Regions from separate parts of the Homo sapiens genome. Here region 2 is linked to region 1. The links are contacts of gene promoters, found by promoter capture Hi-C in blood cells and fetal thymus (Javierre and others, 2016). All regions are on one chromosome and are shown on one strand. The core of a region is centred on a gene start or on the middle of the fragment in contact, and the rest is flanking DNA. Distances in the headings are between cores, read along the strand shown. Region 1 holds the start of URB1 (URB1 ribosome biogenesis factor). Region 2 overlaps SYNJ1 (synaptojanin 1).

Region 1 (4,963 bases), core at 1,145-3,644:
AAGTTCATCATTTTCATACTTTGTGTTATCCTTAGCTTGTTCTGTATTTAAGGTTATATGAGCCTCGTAAAAGATGTTGGGATACTTTATTTTTTATTTTGTGGAACTAACGGCACAAGGTGAGAATTATCTGTTTCTGAAAAGATTGTTAGAACTTAACTGAAAAATCATCTTCATGTTGGGAAAGTGCTATGGTTTGAACGTTTGTGTCCCCCTCAAATTCATTATGTTGAAACCCCATCCCAAGTGTGATATTTGGTTGTGGGAGGCCTTTTGTGAGGTGACTAGCTCATGAGGGTGGAGCCCTCAGATGTAATTAGTGAGTGTCTTTATAAAGTAGGCCCAATCAAGAAAGGTCGGGAGACAGAGAGTGAGGTATGTACAGGAAAAGTCCACATCTGAGCCACTTGAGCTCTGGGCAAAGAGTTTCAAAGAGAGGGAACAAGTACAAAAGCTCTCGGGCTTTTTTCCTCAGCTTAGAATGTCCTAGGAGCAGTACCACATAGTCTGCAACAAACCAGAATGCTCCTGGAGGCAAATAATACAAAGCTTTGATATGGAAAGACAAGTCACTATCCAGAGGTTGGTGAGCCTCATATCTGAACAAAGGGTTAACCCAGCATCAATGATTCATGGCATTAACTTAGTCTAAAACATCCAAATGCACTTCTGAGCCACACTTGCCATCCATACATCTCTGGCTAAGGCTGTAAATGGGCACTGCCAACTTCTGTTTCTTTGTTTTTAATTTGGGACTAGGATACACTGGGTGAGTCCTGGCTCCACCAGTTACTAGCTGGATAATCCTGGGAAGTTCCTCATGCTCTTTAATTGTTTGTAAAGCAAACCAGCACAGAGGGATGGTAATTTGCCCAAGGTCACACAGGCAGAAACTGAACTCAGGGCTTTTGACTGTTTCCTAACTCTTTCTGATAACTTTTTGGTTGGGACCACCATGGCAGAAAACAAAGTTGGTGGTTAGCGATTAACCAAAGAAGAGGACCAGTGTGGATAATCAGTCAGAATTAAGTCTGTATTCACTAATGAGTGTTGCCTTTTACAGATGACTTTTTGAGCATATTCCCCTCTCTTAACATTGCTGCATTAGCTCATATCTGCTAGGGGTGACACCCTCTCTCTGACCTGCCTACAACATAGACATCTCCACAGGCACAATCATCTTGTCGGGACAGAGGCTCAGCGTCAACACACGTGCTTTTTCTACTAGAAACTCTGAGACCCCAACAGGCCACAAAAGCCCACATCCTCAGATGTTCAAAACACATCTGCTTACAGAATATGAAACACAATTTTCTTAGACTAGAGGACAACCTGATGGAGAATTTCAGTAATCACCAAGTTACTTATCTAATGCGCTGGTTCATGATTTATTTGGACACATACCTAAGTATCGATGAAGTCGTATTAAAATATGTACCAGCCTGTTTTTACTTATTTTTACTTTCATTTTATTTCAGAGCATTTAATGCGGTTTACAAATCAATCACATCTTCCAAAAACACACTGTGTTGTTTTTCTCCTCAAAGCAGTTTTTCATACATTGCATCATTTTCTGTTCATAACAGTCCCAAGGACTGGATAGGGTCGGCTTTGCTGTCTCCATTTTAATGACAGGAACTTAGATGTGGAGGCCTTACGCTGTCCAGGAAGGGGTTTTACAGACGTTACTTCGTTTGGTCTTCTCCTCCCACCCTGCACGGCGCAAAGAGCCCATCAGTTTGCGGAAGTCTGGGGTGGAGGACAGTCTGGAGTGACAGGCTGCTACCAGACCAGTCGATCTGGTTCGGGCTGTGACATAAGCTAGGGGTCGAAGTCAGGGGCACCCGCACAGGCGGACCTGCCTGGCACCTAGCCAAGGCGAATCCACCTTCCCGGCCAGCCACCAGGGCCTTGAATTGGCAAAGTATCGAATCCTGTTGTGTGTGAAGCAAGCTCTTCATGCGACACCTTCAGGGCGACCTCGGGTCAAGAACTACTCATTGTGCTGCTTGGACGCGCCGGGGCCCGAGTCTTCGTGGATCGGCCAGGCCAGGAGTGAAAGGTCTGGGAGTTCTTCCGGCCAAGAGCACCCGAAGAGCCACTGGGATCAGAAATGCGCCCCGGTGGACCCCAAACCCTGCAGCCGGGGGCGGGGGGTGTCGTGGAGTGTCCGCTCGCCCCATGCCGTGACCGGGACAACCGGTACAGCAAACTCACATGGAGCCCCAAGACTCTGGATCCCCAAGACTCTGGATCCCTATCGCCCCGCCCCTTCTGCAGGCCACGCCCCTTCCGCCGGTCCCAGCCTCGCGCGGGTCGGCCCCTTCCGCCGGCCTTTCCCCGAGCCCCGCCTCTTCCGCCAGCCCCGCCTCTTCCGCCAGCCCCGCCTCTTCCTGCGCCATGTGGGCCTGAAGCGCGTGTCTGCTGTCTGTGCCAGTGCTCCTGCCGGGTCCCCTCAGGTGTGTCGTTTCCGTCGCGCTTCCGCCCTCTCGGCCATGGGGGTCCCCAAGAGGAAGGCCTCGGGCGGCCAGGACGGCGCGGCTTCCTCCGCGGGTGCAGCCAAGCGCGCCCGCAAAGAAGAGCTCACGGGCGTGCGGTTCAAGGCTCAGCTGAAGGACCCGCAGGGCCCCGGGCCAGGTGAGTCCGGGGCGGCAGGCGCAGGGTCGGGAGCACAGGCTGGCGAGGCGGCCTCCGTGTGCCGGGCACAGCCTCTCCTTTCTGCAGCTTTCGGGTCACATAGGCTCAGTGGCAAGCCTCTGGTTTGCAGAAAACTGAGGTTCAGGACTGCTGTGTACTTCCTTGCTCTGGACTGTCGGCGACAGCGAGAGGGCCCCGACTTGCTTGATTGGGACCGTTTCATGTTACAACACATTTATTTCCCTTGCCCAGGCAGCATCCCTCAGCGAGCTCTAAAACCTCTTTATTGCAGTTGTCAGGGAAGTAAATGAAGTGTCCTTCTCTATTGAGTCCTTACTGAGTCGGCTCAGGACGGTTCATGAGACAGTTTGCTACTCCTTGGGCCGTCAGCACCGTTTTCAATAGCTTCCATCCCCCAACACTCATACTGACTTGATGACTTGTAACAAGCTACTAGAAGCCACCACAGCTACTTGTCAGTTGACCAGGAATGGGCCAGTGACTGAGATGTAGCCGACTCTATAATTTAATTACACTTTTTGTAAAGTGTGACCACCCTTCGCGACTACTTGTAATCGTTTGGAAAGTAACATGGTTTGGGAAAAACGCAATTGAACGTGTTGCCATGTGGAAGCATTGCTCTAAAATAAAACAGTGGCAGTTTTTCTCCCAGGTTAAATAAACGATTAAATTAATGGCCAAAATATCTTCAACTTCCAATTTTTGTCCTCATTTTTTTTTTTAAACGACAGGGTCTTGCTCTGTTGCCCAGGCTGAAGTGCAGTGGCACTATCATAGCTCACTGCAGCCTTGAACTTCTGGGCTTAAGCTGTCCTCCCACCTCAGCCTCCCAAGTAGCTGAGATTGTAGGTGCACAACACCATGCCCAGCTATGTTTTTTTTTTTTTTTTTACTTTTTGTAGAGATGGAATCTCACTATGTTGTCCAGGCTGCCCTCGAACTCCCAGTCTCAAGCAATCTTCCCACCTTGTCTTCTCAAAGGGCTGGGAGTATAGGTATGAGCCACCACACCTGGCCTGTTTTTAAACTTTGATACCTATACCTGTACTTGCTAGTCACAGCTAGGAAGATGATACTTAGTTAGCATAGAGTTATTTATTTCCGAATTCATTAAGTATTACTAGAGGCTATTATTTGCTACGGTAGAGATAAAGTGATGAATAAAAATGTCAAAAAGCCTCTGCCATTGTGGGGTTTACAAACAGTCGAGTGGGGCAGGCAGATATTGGTCAGTAAAATCACATACATACAGTTTCAAGCACGAGTTTTCCAAAGGAGAGGTACATGGTGCCTGAGGGTGTTTAACAGACCTTGGATCTAATCTGGGAGCTCAAAGAAGGCTCCCCTGAGGAAGTGGCTTTTCTTTTCTTTTTTTTTTAATCATACTTTAAGTTTTAGGGTACATGTGCACAACGTGCCCCTTTGTTACATATGTATACATGTGCCATGTTGGTGTCCTGCACCCATTAACTCGTCATTTAACCTTAGGTATATCTCCTAATGCTGTCCCTCCCCCCTCCCCCCGACCCGACAACAGGCCCCGGTGTGTGATGTTCCCCTTCCTGTGTCCATGTGTTCTCATTGTTCAGTTCCCACCTATGAGTGAGAACATGCGGTGTTTGGTTTTTTGTCCTTGCGATAGTTTGCTGAGAATGATGGTTTCCAGCTTCATCCATGTCCCTACAAAGGACATGAACTCATCGTTTTTTATGGCTGCATAGTATTCCATGGTGTATATGTGCCACATTGTCTTAATCCAGTCTATCATTGTTGGACATTTGGGTTGGTTCCAAGTCTTTGCTATTGTGAATAGTGCCACAGTAAACGTACGTGTGCATGTGTCTTGATAGCAGTATGATTTATAATCCTTTGGGTATATACCCAGTAATGGGATGACTGGGTCAAATGGTATTTCTAGTTCTAGATCCCTGAGGAATCGCCACACTGACTTCCACAATGGTTGAACTAGTTTACAGTCCCACCAACAGTGTAAAAGTGTTCCCATTTCTCCACATCCTCTCCAGCACCTGTTGTTTCCTGACTTTTTAATGATCGCCATTCTAATTGGTGTGAGATGGTATCTCATTGTGGTTTTGATTTGCATTTCTCTGATGGATCTAATTAAACTAAAGAGCTTGTGCACAGCAAAAGAAACTACCATCAGAGTGAACAGGCGACCTACAGAATGGGAGAAAATTTTTGCAATCTACTCATCTGACAAAGGGCTAATATCCAGAATCTACAATGAACTCAAACAAATTTACAAGAAAAAAAAAAACCCCATCAAAAAGTGGGCAAAGGATAT
Region 2 (4,963 bases), core at 1,480-3,979, 270 kb before region 1:
AGGACATTCTTAGGCGAAGTGGCATTTTTTTTTTCCTGCAAGTATATGGCAGTGGGGATTGTAATGATGACTAGTATAGTTTGGTGCCTAAATTCGAGTGAAAGCACCAGCACTTTTACCCATTGTTGCTTTTGCACCATCAGTGCAAATGTTAGTCAACACAGTGAAAGATGTCTTAATAGTATGATGAAAATAGTTGTGACCCCATGGGCTTTGGGAACCCTCAAAGATGTCTCCAGATCACACTTTGGGAACGCTGTTCTGAATCCATATTATAAATACAAATTATATGAGTGAGGCTTAAAACTTCAGTGTTTTATTTTAACAAAGTATGCTTGCTTTTAAATTTCAGCAGTTTCCCATCTTTTATGACATTTTTAAAGATTTTTAGGAGAAAATTATAGGCTGAAATAGTCATCAATCTTGCAAGTGACAAATATTTTATTAGGCAAAATGAAAAACAATTCACATCAGGAAAATTGGAAAGAAATCAACTTCACCCATTTTGTTGTTTGATTATGTTTCCTGAAAAATATATTCAGGTCCTAAACTAGACTATAACTCTGAGGGTTCCTAGTACTAAGTGCATGGATCAATTGTTTGTCTAAATAGAGTTTAATCAAATTCTTCTTTAGGCTAGGTTTAATCAAATTCTTTAGGCTGGGTGTGGTGGCTCATGCCTGTAATCCCAATGCTTTGGGAGGCCAAGGCAGGTGGATCACTTGAGGTCAGGAGTTTGAGACCAGCCTGGCCAATATAGTGAAACCCTATCTCTACTAAAAATACAAAAAAATCAGCTGGACGTGGTGCCCCGTGCCTGTAATCCCAGCTACTCAGGAGGCTGAGGCAGGGAGAATCGCTTGAACCTGGGAGACGGAGGTTGCAGTGAGTGGAGATCGCACCACCGCACTCCGGCCTGAGTGACAGAGCAAGACTCTGTCTCAAATATGTATATGTATATATATATACACACATGCACACACACACACACACACACACACACACACACACACACATATATATTCTTCTTTAATAAAGTAGTGAATATTTATTCATTTATTTAAGCAGTACCTACTGAGTACCACTCTTAAGTACCTCCAATGAATCAAACAGACAAAAATCCCTATCTTCATGGACTTCGTATTCTAGTGGGAAGAAACGGACAGTGAACAATAACAACAATAAGTAAATTATACAGCATGTTAGAAAAGTGCAATGGAAAAGAGAGGAAAAGGAGATCAACTATAGGGACACAGGGAAGTGTTGGAAGTCTCAAATGAATGATCAAGATAAGGTTCATTGAGAAGATGAGGAATGAGTTTCAGCTACTTGCGGGGCTGAGGTGGGAGGATCGCTTGAGCTCAGGCAGAGGTTGCAGTGAACCGACATCCTGCCACAGCACTCCAGCCCTGGGTGACAGAGTGAGACCCCATCTCAAGAAAAAAAGAGAGATTAGGAGACATGACAAGCAAATGCAATATGTAGACCTTGTTTGGACCCTTTTTAAAGAAACAAACCAACTGTTAGAAGATTTTTTTTTAATAAATGGGGAACTTTAAGTATAAACTATTAGATGATATTAAGGAATTATTAATGTTTAAATGTGATAAGGTGAAGAGGATGGAAAAAATAGATTGGCAAAATGTTGGTAATTTTGAAATGGGTATATGGTGGTTTGTTTAATGATTATGTCTTCTAATTTCCCATAGCAAGATTTTTTAAAAAGACATTAGTTATAATTTAGAAAAATTTTGAAAAGTGGGGAAATGTATTTGGAAGCACATATAGTCACATATATGTGCACAGTTAGCTGTCCTTATCCATGGGTCTGACATCTTTGGATTCAACTCATCAAAATATTAAATATTTTTTAAAATTGTGTCTATACTGAACATGTGTAGCCTTTTTTTTTTTGTCTTTTTTACTTGCAGACTTTTTTGTATCGTTATTCCCTAAACATTACAATATAACAACTAATTACATTGTATTAGGTATTATAGGTAATCTAGAGATGATTTAAAGTATACGAGAGATTTACATGGGTTATATGCAAGTATTACTCCATTTTATGTAAGGGACTTGAGTATCCTTGGATTTTGGTATCATGGGAGGTCCTGAAACCAATCTCCCACAGATACTTCTATACTTCTCTGTGATCTTAATGAATACTTAAGGAAAAAGTAAAATGTATAAGTTTGAATTTACTCACCCAGTGAGTAGCCATTTAATGTCTTTATATTTTCTTTGTAAAGAAGTAATAGATTAGATTTTGAAATGTGGTTTTCTTTTGGCTAAATTGTAGATTTTCCTTTTTAAAGGAAACAAAAACAGCCTAAGCTTCCTTCAGAGTCTTAGGATATTTGGGTAGATAAAGGTATAATTGACAATTGTCATAAAATAGGCTATTGTCAATACCTTTTTAAAAAATTCTCTTTTTAATATTTTCTTGTAGCACAACAAATCAGAAGCTCTGGGCTGTAGAACTTCAGAAGACAATCTCCAGAGACAACAAGTATGTGCTGCTGGCTTCTGAACAGTTGGTGGGCGTCTGTTTGTTTGTTTTTATCAGACCACAGCATGCTCCTTTTATCAGGTCAGTAAACAGAACACTCCTCTAAGGCTACTTCCTACCATTAAATAACAAGAAAAAAGCCTAGAATGTTTATTGTTTCAGTTCTTCAAACAAAAACTATCCATAGTTCTTGTTTTAAAATGGGGTTTTGGGGGTTTTGATTAAAGACTCACCAATAGCTTCACTGTACTATTTCAAAGGCTTGCCCTCAAAGTACCATACCATGTGTACTTAAATGATTATGTATATTCCTCATTTCCTATGCACATGGAACTCTTGAAATTTCAAATCTGCGATTTAGAATTCTTTGTTTCAAAGGGATGTTGCAGTTGATACTGTGAAGACTGGAATGGGAGGTGCAACTGGAAATAAGGGAGCAGTTGCAATCCGAATGCTCTTCCATACAACCAGCCTTTGCTTCGTCTGTAGCCACTTTGCTGCAGGGCAGTCACAAGTCAAAGAAAGAAATGAAGATTTTATAGAAATAGCACGAAAATTGAGTTTTCCTATGGTAAGCTCTTGCTGCTTGTTCTTGAAGATAAAGCTTTGAAATATATTTTAATTTGCCCCAAATTCTACATCAATGTTTTTGGAAATTTAAGATAGTTCCTAGAAACATTAAGAATATTCACCTAAATAGATATTTCATGAGTATTAACCCAAAATATCTGAGACAGGGCTCAGTCAATTTAGAAAGTTTATTTTGCCAAGGTTAAGGATGTGGCCATGATATAGCCTCCAGAATTCAGAATGACATGTGCCCAAGGTGGTCGGGGGTACAGTTTGCTTTTATACATTTTAGGGAGACCTGAGACATCAGTCAGTATGTGTATGATGTACACTGGTTTGGTCTGGTAAGGCAGGACAACTCGAAGTGGGGGCTTCCAGGTTAGAAGTAGATAAGACGCAAAAGGTTGCATTCTTTTAAGTCCTAGATCAGCCTTCCACTGAATACACAATTTAGTGTGGCTCAGTGAATCTGCATTTTTGCATAAACAATAGGGCAGAGGAAGCAGTCAGATGTGCATTTGTCTCAGGTGAGTCTCAGAGGGATGACTTTGAGTTCAGTCTATACTTTGTCCACAAGGAATTTCCTGTGGGCAAATTGTGAGGGAGTTATGTAGCTTCTTATCTTTGGAGCTATCTTATTTAGGAGTAAAATGGGAGGCAGGTTTACCTGTCATAGTTCCTGGCTTGATTTTTCTCTGGGCTTAGTGATTTTGGGGTCCTGAGATTTATTTTCGTTTCACATGTGTTATTACTGTTGGGTCAAAGAAACAGGACATGGGAGGAGACAAGCATATCTCAGGCAAAGAAATAGTTGTAAAACATTTTTGAACATTGATTGTTTTGAATTTAAAATTCTATCTCATTGCTTTCAGGGAAGGATGCTATTTTCCCATGACTATGTATTTTGGTGTGGTGATTTCAACTATCGAATCGATCTCCCTAACGAAGAAGTTAAAGAGCTCATAAGACAGCAAAATTGGGATTCTCTTATAGCAGGAGATCAACTTATCAATCAGAAAAATGCTGGACAGGTATATCTATACTTGAGAAAATACTTGCATTAAGATTTTGGGTCGTGAAACATGCCTTTTTAAATCAAGATGTTTTAAAATTTTCTTGGGGTCTTTTTGTACTTAAATATGCATCTGTAGGTAAACAGATAATAGAATTATCTTTCCTTAAAGTGTAGCAGGATGAGCTGCAGACAAGAACCCTTCAGACACCAAGTTGTAGAAGGAAAGGGCTTTATTCAGCTGGGAGCAGCAGCGGACTCACGTCTCCAAAAACCGAGCTCCCCGAGTGAGCAATTCCTGTCCCTTTTAAGGGCTTACAGCTCTAAGGGAGTCCATGTGAGAGGGTCGTGATCGATTGAGCAAGCAGGGGGTATGGGACTGGGGGCTGCATGCACTGGTAATCAGAATGGAACAGGACAGGGATTTTCACGATGCTTTTCCATACAATGTCTGAAATCTATAGATAGCACAAGCGGTTAGGTCAAGGGTTGATTTTTAACTACCAGGCCCAGGGCACAGTGCTGGGCTATCTGCCTGTGATTCCATTTCTGCCTTTTAGTTTTCACTTCTTTCTTTGGAGGCAGAAATTGGGCATAAGACAATATGAGGGGTGGTCTCCTCCCTTATTCCCCCCTTTGAGAACTTCACTCATTAATGGGAGTTCTCACTTTCATCCTCATTACCCATGTCTTCTTGCAAGACAGATTGATAGTGATTCATATGGTACACTTGCGCTGAAGCATTTTGGTGAGCTAAGGTAGTGATGAAGCTTTTTATCATTTGAAGAAGTACAAGTAGCAAACAAGGGAGCAGTAAGCAGGTTCCTATTACTATTATAACTCCTATTATAAGAGTTTTAAATCCTCCT

Evidence for each region. Contacts are between HindIII fragments. The CHiCAGO score rates a contact against its expected background, and 5 or more counts as called.
Region 2: a contact is called between a fragment that was not itself captured here and the fragment with the promoter of URB1 in region 1, in 1 of 17 cell types (megakaryocytes). The highest score is 5.1, in megakaryocytes.

What each region holds. Positions count from the first base shown.
Region 1 is chr21:32,390,443-32,395,405 of GRCh38, reverse strand. It overlaps URB1 (URB1 ribosome biogenesis factor), which reads left to right and starts at 2,394. Exons shown (of 39, transcript NM_014825.3): 1 at 2,394-2,637. The coding sequence starts at 2,496. URB1-AS1 (URB1 antisense RNA 1 (head to head)) reads right to left here and starts at 2,273. Exons shown (of 1, transcript NR_026845.1): 1 at 1,446-2,273. RefSeq lists enhancers at 1,792-2,041, 1,564-2,345, 2,192-2,486, 2,346-3,128. The HindIII fragment of the contact is 11,778 bases long and covers 552-4,963 here.
Region 2 is chr21:32,664,063-32,669,025 of GRCh38, reverse strand. It overlaps SYNJ1 (synaptojanin 1), which reads left to right. Exons shown (of 33, transcript NM_203446.3): 16 at 2,453-2,593; 17 at 2,891-3,083; 18 at 3,955-4,113. LOC124905011 (a long non-coding RNA gene) reads right to left here. Exons shown (of 2, transcript XR_007067845.1): 2 at 4,310-4,963. Among named protein-coding and RNA genes, the nearest start is that of CFAP298-TCP10L, 54 kb to the right of the region's middle. The HindIII fragment of the contact is 779 bases long and covers 2,340-3,118 here.